Linked DNA regions of Homo sapiens: region 1 is linked to region 2. The links are contacts of gene promoters, found by promoter capture Hi-C in human tissues and cell types (Jung and others, 2019). All regions are on one chromosome and are shown on one strand. Each heading gives the region's core, a stretch centred on a gene start or on the middle of the fragment in contact. The rest is flanking DNA. Distances are from core to core; before and after follow the strand shown.

Region 1 (6,825 bases), core at 3,557-6,056, 45 kb after region 2:
TATTAGGAATTGAATGACCTTCATATAGAAGCACTTGCAGTGATAGCCAATTGCCTTGAAGACATGGATACTATGGTGCAGATTCAGCAGACAGGGGGTCTTAAAAAGCTCCTGTCATTTGCAGAAAACTCTACAATTCCTGATATTCAGAAGAATGCAGCAAAAGCCATTACTAAAGCAGCTTATGATCGTATGTCTCATTTTATTTTATTTATTTTGAGATAGGATCTTGCTCTGTTTCTCAGGCTGGAGTGCTGTGGCGTGATCACAGCTCACTGCAGCCTCAACCTCCCCAGGTTACAAGTGATTCTCCCACCTCAGCCTTCCTAGTAGCTGGGACTACAGGCATGCACCACCATGCCTGGCTAATTTTTGTATTTTTTGTAGAGACAGGGTTTTGCTGTGTTGCCCAGGCTAGTCTAGAACTCCTGGGCTCAAGCGATCTGCCCACTTTGACTGAGTTACAGGCATGAGCCACTGCACCCTGCCATGTCTTATTTTATATAAACAAAACATATATAATTCCTCTTGTCTCAATTTTGATTAGTACTAATCAACACTAGAGCATTTGTCTGCTTTTAAAAAACCATTTGAGAATAGTGCTATATTTACTACTTAAGTCCAAACTCATCTCACTTCCAATGAGTTAGAGATTTGTCAGGGATATGAAGAACTCAATATGATTTCATTATCCTATTTTTCAAAATACAATTCATTTCTACATTAAGTTTTAAGCCTTTGTTTCACTTGAATTTGGAATTATATAGAAGGTATGCATTGTTTGTGAACCTGAGAGCATTGAAGAAATCCACATTCACAATGATATCTATAAAGTAATTTTCAAGTTTCAGCTGGAGTCTAGTAGCACCATGTTACATAGCTGTGAAAAATATGCTCATACTATATACATAATACAATTTGCATTTCAGTGACAAGTTATGTTGATATAAATCTGTAAAATATGAGAGATTAATTACAGCACAAGCACAGATGAAATTATAGTTTTAATTTATGTATATTTGGAGTCTTTTATCTAATAAAAGATGTGATCTTATTTTTCCCCTTCTGCACCACTTTTAGAAATGATGACAGCATTGACTATTTTAAGTGATTTATATTCTAAACATATATACTCACATCTGTATATTGATATGTATACTATGGGAAACACTCCATTTTCAGCACACACTGGATTTCTTCAGGACAAAGCTTTAATGCAGTAAGCAAGATTTCACCATCCAGTATGTAGTGTGCATAGAGGGGCCTCATGAGTTACATTATAAATGCCTATTTGAGAGACTGGTTGTGAAATCAAGGTTTCTTCATATTGGCAAAAGTTGGTTTACCCAGTATTCTATCAAATGGAACTTAGACATTATTCTAGCTGGTCAGTTCTCTCTTCCTTCTATCCTAGTTCTTCTTAGCTAAGTGAGACCCGAAGAGAAGTAAAATGGGGAGACACGGACAATGCCAAACCTGAAATGTTTGCGTATCTCAGCATCTCTTTGGAGAGTATTTATATGTATCAAATGTGGCTGGGTCATTCTAAGACTGTTCTCACTCATTTTGAGGTGGTGAGTTTGATGATGCCTACCCATCATGTGCCACAGTACTGGAAAGTATGCTGCAGAGTTCCTGGTACTAGAGTTCTAGTACTAGTTCCACTACTGGCATTGTAACGACCTACTTAAGTGATTTTGAGTGAACTATAACTTCTCCAGAACAATGTATATATTCGTTTACTCATGATTTCTTACTGAGTTCTCACCCAGAACAGGAAAGTAAACAGGCACTTACAATGCAGTGTTCAAAGTGATTAATGATGGAAACACAGGATCACCCAGGAAGGCTCCCAGCACAGACCTGGATCAGAAAAATATTTCTGAAATCAGTGATTAACAAGCTAGGACCTAGAGTAAATAAGATAAATTGTCTGGTCAAAGAAGGTTCAGATGGGATGGAGGAGGAGAAGTGGTTCTGAGAAGGAACAGGGTGTATAAAAGCCAGAGGAGGGATAACATGGTAAGTTCCAGAACCGAAAGTTTTCAGAATGGCCAATGACCAGAAAGCCACAGAACACTGAGCGCTCAGGCTATGGACGTGGTGAGGAGCCCAGTGCTCATGGACATTATAAGCCCAGTTAAGGATTTTGGACTTTATTTTAATGGCAACAAAGAGCCATTGAAGTTACTCAGAAGGGAGGGAACATCATGGATTTTCACTTGTTAAAGAAAGAGAACTCGTGTTGCAAAGTGGAGAAGAGATTGGAAATGTTTAGGACCAGACACAGAAGACCAAAAGGGGGTTGCTGTAGTAATCTAGGTGAGATGTGAAGGTGCCCTGAAACAGAGATGCGGTGTTCAGGACTGGCTCAAGGCACTTTGCAAGGAGAACCACCAGCACATGTGTGAGTATTTTTGAATGACTATGTTGGTTGAAAGAGGAAGAAGGCGATACCAAGGATGAGGCCAGGTTTCTGGCTTAGACAGCTAGAAGTAAAATGGTGCCACTCACAGAACTGAAGAACTCAAGAAGGGGAGCGGTTTTGCTTGAAGAAAAGGAATCAATCCTATTCTTGCTTTTTAAATTGTGGTGAAATACAAATACTATGAAATTTACCGTCTTCATCATTTTTAAGTGTACATTTCAGTGGCATTAAATGTATTCACATTTTTGTGGTGCTGTCCATCCACAGAAATCTTTTCATTTAGCAAAACTAAAAGTATACCAATTAAACAATCATTCCCACTCCTTCCTCATACAAACTCCTGGCAACCACTATTCTTTGTCTCTATGAATTTGATGACTCTAGATCCCTCATATATATGGAATCATACAGCATTTGTCCTTTTGCAAATGCATAGCACTTGGCACGATGTCCTTAAGTTTCATTCATGTTGTAGCATGTGTCACAATTTCCTCCCTTCTTAGGGCCAAAGAATATCCATTGCCTGTATAGACCACATTTTGTTTATCCTTTCAACCATGGATGGACAGTTGGTTACATCTGCCTTTTGGTTAATGTGAATAATGTTGCTAAGAATGTGGGTATACAGATATCTCTTTGAGTCCCTGATTTCAATTATTTTGGATATATACCTAGAAGTGGAGTTACTGAATCATATGGTAATTATATTTTTAGTTTTTTTTTTTTTTTTTTTGAGACAGTCTCGCTCCATCACCCAGGCTGGAGTGCAGTGGTGTGATCTCAGCTCACTGCAACCTCCACCTCCTGGCTTCCAGCGATTCTCCTGCCTCAGCCTCCTGAGTAGCTGGGACTACAGGCACGCACCACCACACCCAGCTAATTTTTGTATTTGTAGTAGAGACATGATTTCACCATGTTAGCCAAGCTGGTCTTGAACTCCTGACCTCAGGCAATCTTCCCAACTCAGCCTCTCAAAGTGCTGGGATTACAGGTGTGAGCCACCATGCCCGTCCTCTATTTTTAATTTTTTTGAGAAACTGCCATATTGTTTTCTGTAGCAGCTGTACCATTTTACATTCCCATAACCAATGCACAAGAGTTCCAATTTCTCCACATCCTGGCCCACACTTGCTATTTTCTGTTTGTTGATAGTAGCCATCCTAATGGGCGTGAGGTGCTATCTCATTGTACTTTTTATTTGCATGCCCTAATGATTAGCAACTTCAAGCATCTTTATCGTGTACTTACTGGCCACTTGCATATCTTCTTTGGAGACATCTATTCAAGTCCTTCTCCCATTTTTTGATTGGGTTGTTTTCTTGATGCTAAGTTACAGAAGTTCTTTATATATTCTGGATATTAACCCCTTATCAGATATTATTTGAAAACAGTTTCTCCCATTCTGTGGTTTGCCTTTTTACTCTGTTGATTGTGTGCTTTGATGCAAAAAGTTTTAAATTGTGGTGCATTCCAATTTATCTATTTTGTTGGCTATGCTGTTTGCTGTTGGTGTCATATCCAATAACTCATTACCAAATATCAAAGCTTTTGCCCTATGTTTTCTTCTAGGAGTTTTGTAGCTGTAGCTCTTATATTTAGGTCTTGATCCATTTTGAGTTTATTTTTATATAGGGTATAAAATTATGGTCCCAGTTCGTTCTTTTTCATGTAGACATAAATTTTTCCTAGCATCATTTGTTGAAATTGGTTATTTGTAATAGAAAGGAATTCAAGCAGATAGTCTTTAAATCCTTTCTGGCACTTAATGTTTTCTGATTCTACTTCCTTTTGTTAGTTCTAAAATAACTACATTCCAGTTTCAAGTTGTGTCTCCTGTCTTTATGTTAGAATCTAATGACTAACTGTATTTACTTCATATATGTCATCTGTGATTGTATTATGTTCCCTTCAAACATCACTTTTTCAGACCGAAGAATTCAGATCTTGTTTAGTCTCTCTCCACGCATGTCCCCAGGCCATCCTGGGATCATTTTCTTACCTCTTCAGGACTTCCTCTTGTTTATTATACCCTCCTTGAAATGTGTTGATAAGTATTACGAAAGCTATTTTAAAAGTATGCACCATCATTTTATATTATCTATAGATAGGTTGATTTATCATTATTTTCCATTTCAGTCTTATGCAGCAAGTATTTTAGTCTCTTAACTACATTAGCATATTGGGCCAACCCTTTGAGGGAAGGACCTGCAGGGAGCCCCCAGATCATCTTTCTCAGTCAGTACCCAGAGCTCAAAGTTCCTCATTTTAATTTGTAACATTTTGGGGCTGGGCACAGTGGCTCACACCTGTAATCCTAGCACTTTGGGAGGTTGAGGTGGGAAGATCACTTGACACCAGGAGTTCAAGACCAGCCTGGTCAACAGAGCAAGACCCCCCATCTCTACATAAAATTTTTTTTAAATGAGCCATGCGTGATGTTGTGCACCTGTAGTCCCAGCTACTTGGGAGGCTGAGGAAGGAAGATCACTTGAGCCCAGGAGTTTGAGGCTGCAGTGAGATGTGATCATCCCAGTGCACTCCAGCCTGGGTAACTGAGCAAGACCCTTAATAATAATAATAATAATAATAATAATAATAATAATAATAAATCCTAACATCTTTGATTTATAGTTAAAAATGCAAACTTTGCTTTGGACTAGTATTGCATATTCTTTGAGGCCTGGTATAGGATCTATTTGTACAAGTGTTCTATTAAATCTTGGAAAGGCATACTCTGCTTACTATTTAAATAAACACTTATCATATGCAATTCATTTCTATATTAAGGATATTAAGATAAGGATAAACAATGGATGGAATGAATAAATATTTTCTGAATAGACAAAAAGATATATTTCCTGTAGAATGCAGAGTTTATCTTTTAGTTCAATTTTATAAATTATATTGTACAGTTTTATCCTTATTCTTTTTTTAGCTATATGATCTGTCACAGATGAAGAGTAGTATGTTAGAAGTTTCCCACTATATTATTTTTATTTTCTCTTGTAATTTTTTCTTTGTCTTTCTTTTTTTTTTTTTTTTTTTTTTTGAGACAGAATCTCGCTCTGTCACCCAGGCTGGAGTGCAGTGGCGCGATCTTGGCTCACTCCAAGCTCCACCTCCCAGATTCTCACCATTCTGCTGCCTCAGCCTCCCTAGTAGCTGGGTCTACAGGTGCCTGCCACCAGGCCCAGCTAATTTTTTGTATTTTTAGTAAAGACGGGGTTTCACCATGTTAGCCAGGATGGTCTTGATCTCCTGACCTCATGATCCACCCACCTCGGCCTCCCAGAGTGCTGGGATTACAGGCGTGAGCCACCGCGGTCGGCCTTTCTCTTGTAATTTTATATTAAATGACTTCACTTTATGTTTTTTATCCACTACTGATTTTTTTAAATCTCACTTTTATTGCTCTTTAGCTTTTGATTCTAATTTGATATTAAGATTACCATGTATTATCAAACATGGTCTTGGCAGAAAAAAAATTCTGGAGACTCCTGATGGTTTTAAAAGAGACAAATGAAGGAACTACTTTCAGAAGTATAATTAGGGTTAAGGGAATAAGCAAGAGATGATGAGGTCCCCAGAGATTAGCAATATTGGGAAATCTTCACTACCACTAGGTCCAAAAGGCAAGGCAAATAAATATTGTTAGATTTATTTTTATAGCTACTATATTCACCCTTATTTCTGACATCATGTTTTATGTTTTATGCTTTCTGTTTATTTTTCTATGCTGTTCATTTCTTTGTATAGATTTTAAAAACTTTTATAAACAGTTATTTTAAAGATAAAGTTACTATAGTTATTTTAGATATTTAGCAATTTTGCTTCCACAATTCTTTCCCTTTCTGATGTTTCTAAGATCAATAAGAGGTTATAGATTCCCCTCTCTAAAATCTGTTTTTTTTTGTTTGTTTGTTTGTTTGTTTTGAGACTGAGTCTCGCTCTGTTGCCCAGGCTGGAGTGCAGTGGAGTGATCTCAGGTCACTGCAACCTCCGGCTCCTGGGTCCAAGTGATTCTCTTGCCCCAGCCTCCCAAGTAGCTGGGATTATAGGTGCGTGCCATCATGCTCATCTAATTTTTTATTTTTAGTAGAGACAGGGTTTCACCATGTTGAACAGGCTGGTCTTGAATCCCTGACCTCAAGTGATCCACCTGCCTTGGCCTCCCGAAGTGCTGGGATTATAGGCATGAGCCCCACCCTGGCCAAGACTCTCTTTTTTAAGAATCACTGTCATTACATTCAATTTTAACCACATTTGTCATTTAGAGTTATATACATATTGAATCTGTTTCAGTGTGTGCTGTCAATTTCTCATAATAAAGCTTACCTGTCCTTAAGATTTTATTTGATTCATTTCTCAAATTAACCAGAGTATATTTTTCAGTTAAA
Region 2 (6,984 bases), core at 246-2,745:
CATGGGAGGGGCTTCAACATAATTATATACCAACAGGAAAAAACGTGGAAGACAGGGAGAGGCTGAAAATACAGGTGTATATTATTCAAGGTCCAATCATATAACACTTGATGACGCTTATATTCTTGAAACTCCCTCCTTAGTTTCCTTGATGCTACTTGGTCTTAATCCTTTTCCTACTTTCATGACCATTACTTAAGATCTTTTCTATACAGAAGTCACACCGGATATTTGACCATGGAAAACTGAATACAAATAATTGTTATAAAGCTGTTTATCAGGCAATTTAAATGGTGAGAAGAGAACATAAGATATATAAAAGTAGCAATTATAAGAAGCATCTATCATTCTTAGGACTGGGAGACCAACAGGGGCCGGTAGGAGACGGAATTTGCAAAGTCTAAGAGGAGAGGGAGAGACTTTTTGCTAAAGGCAATCAAAAAATATTTTATGAAGATGGCATTTGAGCTGGGCTTAATTAAGTGGAAATGAGAGAATATTTCAGGTATTGCACATGACCTGGGAAATAGAAGCTACTTTATAAATATTTGTTGAAAAATGAAGTGATGAACAGATAAGCAAGAAAATCTAGAGAAAAGTGTGGAAAATTTCGGGAACAGTAAGTTTGGCTGGAGCTTGGATGGTGGAGATCGGTTGAAAATGTGGTTGCACAGATGGAGTAGAGATGGAGCAGACGGTCTTAAATTCCAGGCCAATGTGTTGAAAATTTATCTTAGGAAGCCGCTGACATTTGAGTAGGGAAGTGACAAGACTGGAACGATGATTTCTGGATGGCCGATTTGCCTGTGATACGTAGAAAGAACTGTAAGCAGAGAGCAACTGAATTTCTCAGCCAGAAGGCCAAAAAATGACGAGCTGGATTGAAGTGACAATAAGGATATGAGAAAGGGAACAAGCAGGAAACAAAATGTAAGCCGCCAAGAAGTGGCTGAAGTGATGACTGTGGTTGGGGGGCATGGGAGGAAGAAGGGAAATTGAAGCTCCTTCTGAGTCTAGGCAATTGGAAGAATGGCAGGAAGAGGAAAGAAAGAGGAAGAGAACGGGGCTTTGAAGGGCCATGAGAAGTTCTGTGGAAACGGATTGGACATCCTAGTGCAAAGAGATGTGGCAGTGCAGGTCTGCAGCTTAACGGAGCCTGGGCAGGAGGTGGCTGATGTGGGTTTCATCTGCATAGAGATTCCGGCTGACGCCTCTATTTGGAAGAATGCAATAGTATTTGCGTATTTGAACCCACAGCCAGTCCTTGGGCCAGAAACTGAGGCTGAACTGCCTCTTGATTTACAGCTTCCACCCCCAGTTTCCATTCTCCCCTAAAGCACTGGATTCAGGTAATCGCGGACGCACTTGGCTCCTCCCGCACTGGCCGCTGCCCTCGGCGGGACAATGGGCGCCCTAGCAGCCCCGAGCGTTCCCAGGGCGCAGGCGCGGCGCGGCGTGGCGTCGCCTAGCAACGAGGCACAACAAGGGACTGGGGGTTCGTCTGCTGGGTTTGCGGAGCAGCTAGCTACTCGGCGGGATCTCCCGGCAGGTAAAGGTAACCCCGTGGGGTGGGGAGGCCCAAGGCAGAGGCCTGAGGAAAACCTGGGAAAGGAGAAGGTGCCACGTGGGCGCAGACTGCTTGGGTCAGTGAGGCAACACCTTGCTGGGCGTTGTTAGTTTCTGCCTCGCGCCCGCAGGGTTAGACGGGGCTTGGGGTGGGTTTCGTAAGCATCCCGCCACCTCCCATTCAACAGGTGACAAAACTGAGGCCCGAGAGGGGATCTGAGGTGAGATCAAGTCAGATTCCGTTACTTGACTGTGAGCAACTCAGAAGTGGCCTCGATTTCTTGAGCCCTCCTCCTCTTTAAATCTTCTCAAAGCAGAACTCATTAGAAAATATTTAAAATCATAGGCTGAACGTTCACGAAGAACAAATACAAAGGACCAATCAACTCGTGAAAAAAAAAATGGCTCCAGTAGTCAAGAAGATGCATTTTTAGAGCAGAGTTGTTTGCATATCCAATGCCCTGAAGTTTTCACCCAGTTAATTTACTGCTAGAGATTTATCCTAAAGAAATAGTTGGGGATAATGGATGAAAATTTTATGTCCAAGGACGTTCTTTCAGCCCTGTCCATATTTCCAGAAAATTAGAAACAAATTTCAACAATCAGAGACTGGCTAGATAGCTAAGGGATTTTAAAATATTTGTAATGGCATGTTATGCTAATCCACTGGAGATTATTAAAGCAATGAAGGGAAACTGAGACTTCATGAATTTATTTGTTAATATAAGAATTTAGTAGGAATATGAACCCAGGAAGGGAAGGTGAAAGTAGGGGATAGAAGTTGAGGCAGGATGTTAAAATCACTTTAGAAAAACACACAAAGCCAGGTACGGTGGCTCACGCCTACAACCCCAGCACTTTGGGAGGCTGAGGCGGGTGGATCGCCTGAAGTCAGGAGTTCGAGACCAACCTGGTCAATGTGGGGAAACCTGTCTCTACTGAAAATACAAAAATTAGCCGAGCGTGGTGGCGGGTACCTGTAATCCCAGCTACTCAGGAGGCTGAGGCAGGAGAATCTCTTAAACCTGGGAGGTGGAGGTTGCAATGAGCCAAGATCAGGCCACTCTCCAGCCTGGGCAACAGAGTGAGACTCTGTCTCAAAAAAGAAAAAGAAAAAGAAAAAAAGAGAAGAGAGAGAGAGAGGGAGAGAGAGAGAGAGAAAGAGAGAGAGAAAGAGAAAGAAAAAGAAAAAGAAAGGAAAGGAAAGGAAAGGAAAGGAAAAGAAAAGAAATAGTATTGATCTCTCTGAGCTTATCTTTGGGTGATTTTTATTTTATTCGTTGTGCCCTTGTTTTCCAAATTCTCCACAGTGAAATGTATTACCCTTGTAAGGATCATCTCCATAGCTCATTGCCACCGACCTATGTCAGCTGTTCAGTCTCTCCTCCATTAACTATCATACCCAATATGGTGATAAAACACATAGGCTTTTTTTGGGGGAGGAGACAGAGTCTCGCTCTGTCACCCAGGCTGGAGTGCAATGGGGTGATCTCAGCTTATTGCAACCTCCGCCTCCCGGCCTCAAGCAATTCTCCTGCCTCAGCCTCCCCAGTAGCTGGGAATGCAGGCACATGCCACCGCCACTCCAGGCTAATTTTTGTATTTTTAGTAGAGACAGAGTTTTGCCATGTTGTCCAGGCTGGTCTTGAGCTCCTGACCTCAGGTGATCCACCCGCCTCAGCCTCCCAAAGTGCTGGGATTACAGGAGTGAGCCACCACGCCGGGCCATGATAAAACACATAGGCTTTTAACTTCATTCTTTAGCTTAGGAGACACTCTATCATTGCAATACTGTCTGTGTAAGCTCTTCTAACCTCTGCACTATGCAATTGCTCAAAAACACTATCCTGAAGTAGGAAAAATTAGTTCCTAAGTGAAAATCAGATGATTTAAAACAACTTTATGCAGGTGTAATTAAATTGCTTCCTGAATATTATTCATAAGCAATTATTTTATAAATCAAAGGCTGCTCTGTCTTGGAATTGGTTATAGAGTGCTATAAACTCTCTCTTTTTTTTTTCCTAGAGATTAATTGTAGGATAGATTCTCATTTGCCCAGAATAGTTTCTGCCTCTCTGCCTGAAATATTATAGGCACAAGGTCTAGGGCCTGTTCACTTTTCAAGCACCTAAGGAAGATGTTTGAGATTTGAAAAAAATGCTTATATTGGCTCTAAAATATGAAAAGAGAACTGAAAAATTAGTGTTAATTAAATGTTTTATTAATATAAATTTTTATTACATTTGAAAACAATTTTCTCATTTTACAAGAATTTCCAGGTGTATGTACTGATTGCTGAGTAATTTCAAATACAAATTTCAAAAGTTTTTATGATGCAAATGACATTTAATGGGCGATGCAGGCACATTTTAACATTTTAATATATTGGCTATTGTGTGAATAAGCTTGCCCAGGCCCTCCAAAGTCTTAAAAGTAGTGTGGTCTGAAGTTAGAGACCTAGAATAAATGCCTTTCAGAAGTATCTAGGAGTTTCTATGAAGACGTGGCTTTTTAATGTATGTGATAAATTCTGGTCAGTGTCTCTAATGCTAGGAGTTGCTTTTGACCCTTGACATGCAATTTGAGCTAACCCTGACACTGTAGATTCTCCCCAAGGATTTTCTACTTCCTAGGATTTCTACTGAGACTATGGTAATTTCCTTAAGGCTATGATATACCGTTTAAGATTGCTCCTACGATATACCGTTTAAGATGGCCCTGATGTCAAACATAATTCCACAAACTCTCACTGAAGAAAACTAGATAGATTTCCTGGGTTATTCTAATAGACATTAACATCTTGAAAAGTTTCTTTTTTTTTTTTGAGACAGTCTCACTCTGTTGCCCAGGCTGGAATGCAGTGGTGCGATCTCGGCTCACTGCAGCCTCCGCCTCCCGGGTTCAAGTGATTCTTGTGCCTCAGCCTCCTGAGTAGCTGGGACTACAAGGCACGTGCCACCACACCCGGCTAATTTTTGTATTTTTAGTAGAGACAGGATTTCACTGTGTTGGCCAGGATGGTCTTGAACTCCTGACCTCGTGATTCGCCCACCTCGGCCTCCCAAAGAGCTGGGATTACAGGCGTGAGCCACCTGCCCGGCCTGAAAAGTTCTTTGAACCCAGGCTGGTTACTCCTCTGTGGTATGTTAACTATGTATAAATTCCATTCCTTTCACTTTTTCCACACAGACATGGACATATGAGGACAAGTGGAAAGGAAGTAACCTCAGTTTCCCCAGAATATATCTCTTCAGATTTTTTAATTGCTTTTTTACTAAGCTGTGGATTATGAAAGAAAACTTTTTGTTATCCGGGCAAAGGACACAAATGTTGATTCAAGACCTGGTAGATTTTGTATACCATTTATGAGATCATTACTCCTAGGAAAAATGGAGTTAATGAGGTTTATAAATATCAAATGCCAATTATGTACCAGACACTGTTGTAGGTATTTAGGATAGATCAGTGCAAGAAAATAGACAAAAACCTCTGCCTTTGTGGCACAAACATTCTTGCAGGTCTCAAAAGTAACTTGGTGGGCTTAGTCTCTTAAGCCCATCATAAGCAAGCTATAAAAATGGTAAATGATTTCTTGTTATTTAAGTTATGCCACTAATATATTCACCTCCTTTCTAAACTGAAAGCCAGGACTAACACTCAATGATCTTATCAATAAGTTCCTTAAAATTGCAGAGTTTGAAATTGGGATGTAGGTGACATATTTGTACATATGTGATAATTTTTACATGTATTGCATTGTGTTTTAGGAGGTAAAAATTTAAAGGAGAAAATAAACCTCCTCTCAAGGGCACAGGTAATTGAGAAATGTATGTGCAAATGTCACTTTAACCATATATTGCATCTTTTTCCAGGATGGGTAAAAAGATAAAGAAGGAAGTAGAGCCTCCTCCTAAGGATGTGGTAAGTTTCTGATTTGAATACTAGTAGCACTTTAACAACCAGTTATAAAAATAAATTGTTCACACAGTTTGGCATGTACCAGTATATACATGAATACGCGGTGGCAGAAGTCCAAAGTCTGACTAATGATAAGATTAGTCAGAGAAATCTAACATTACATAAACAAACATTTACAACATTGTCATTATATAATTAGCACAATTAGAGAGTAATTATTAGCTTTTCCAGTATGTAGATGGCATGTTTATAGCATAGTTAATGAATAAATAGTTTGGGTTGTTCTTTTAAATACTTACCATTTACATTTGCCAGCCTCTCATTTATGTTAATTAATCAAGTGAATTTTCAAAAATAACTGGAAGTTCTGCTATAGCTATTAGATATGTATATAAGGTTGTCTGGTGATGACCACTGCACGTGAGAAGTCCCTATCCTTTCCAGTTCTATCGAGAGACTAGTCTGGCATCATCATTTTTATTCCAAATGCTAAGTAATTCATTCCCCACTGAAAGCTCTTCTCTGTCTTTAAAAACAGGATTTTATCTTCTCTCTTTAAACTTTATCAATTATTGAAAGGTTGTGTTAAAAGTGAAAAATGACCTTGGACAATTTGCAGTTTAGAAACTTATTTTGAAACAGACATTTGGTGTGATTTCCTTCAGATAAATCAGGAATAGAAAAGAAATAAGTGGAGTCCACAGACTCACAGCAATTTCAAATTTGAAGGAAACTGGGCTAATGGCAGAAATCTGCCCCCTTGGGAGCTTTGTGGTTAAGACACTGGGGGCCTTGAGCCAGCTCTGCCTCTTACCAACTGTGTCATTGTGGCCAATTTGCCAAATTTGGCCAAGTTATTTCGGTTTTTCTTTAGCTCCTAAATGGGAATCATAATATCAAACTCGTTCCCGTTGTTGTATGAATTAAAACAAAATAAGTTACATAAAGGTCTTAGTGCTTGGCACGTAGCACTTGGAAAATAAGATCTATTATCATGAGAATCCTCTGGACTCTGCTTCTGAGACACACAAACACACACTTGCACCCCTGTGCAATCCACTGGGTATGATACTTCAATACAGTTGGGAACAAAATCTACAGAAGTGCCTGTCTTCCCGGGTCCAGGAAGGCTTTGCAGGGGTAGACATTGTGATCTCATGATGTTTCATCATTCTGGCTGCTTCTCTTAGGACATATTCCTAAAATGTTGCAGATTCTCTTATTTTTTTTTTCATTGCATCCAAGGTTTGTATCACTCCCCTTTTTGCTACCAAATAGCATTAATGGCATCTGATTAGCAAAAACATATTCTAATAAAAATTAGAATTACGGGGCTAATAAACAATAGATGTATATGGCTAATACACTTTCTATAACTTCATAATGTCTTGCTGATATTGTCCTCTGGACTCCAATCCTTGGGGACACAATGGAGAACTTGAGAAACACAGTCCTAGCATTAACAAAATAGAACTCCTGCTTCCTCAGCTCCCAACAGCC

What was found. The method cuts DNA at HindIII sites, captures the fragments that hold promoters and counts their contacts. A contact is called where the count stands out against the background at its distance.
Region 1: a contact is called between a fragment that was not itself captured here and the fragment with the promoter of ARMC3 in region 2, in 1 of the 25 tissues and cell types used here (hippocampus).

The regions. Positions count from the first base shown.
Region 1 is chr10:22,968,300-22,975,124 of GRCh38, forward strand. ARMC3 (armadillo repeat containing 3) reads left to right here. Exons shown (of 19, transcript NM_173081.5): 8 at 7-190. Among named protein-coding and RNA genes, the nearest start is that of ARMC3, 44 kb to the left of the region's middle. The HindIII fragment of the contact is 4,431 bases long and covers 2,592-6,825 here.
Region 2 is chr10:22,926,558-22,933,541 of GRCh38, forward strand. ARMC3 (armadillo repeat containing 3) reads left to right here and starts at 1,496. Exons shown (of 19, transcript NM_173081.5): 1 at 1,496-1,549; 2 at 5,439-5,487. The coding sequence starts at 5,440. The HindIII fragment of the contact is 8,735 bases long and covers 1-6,477 here.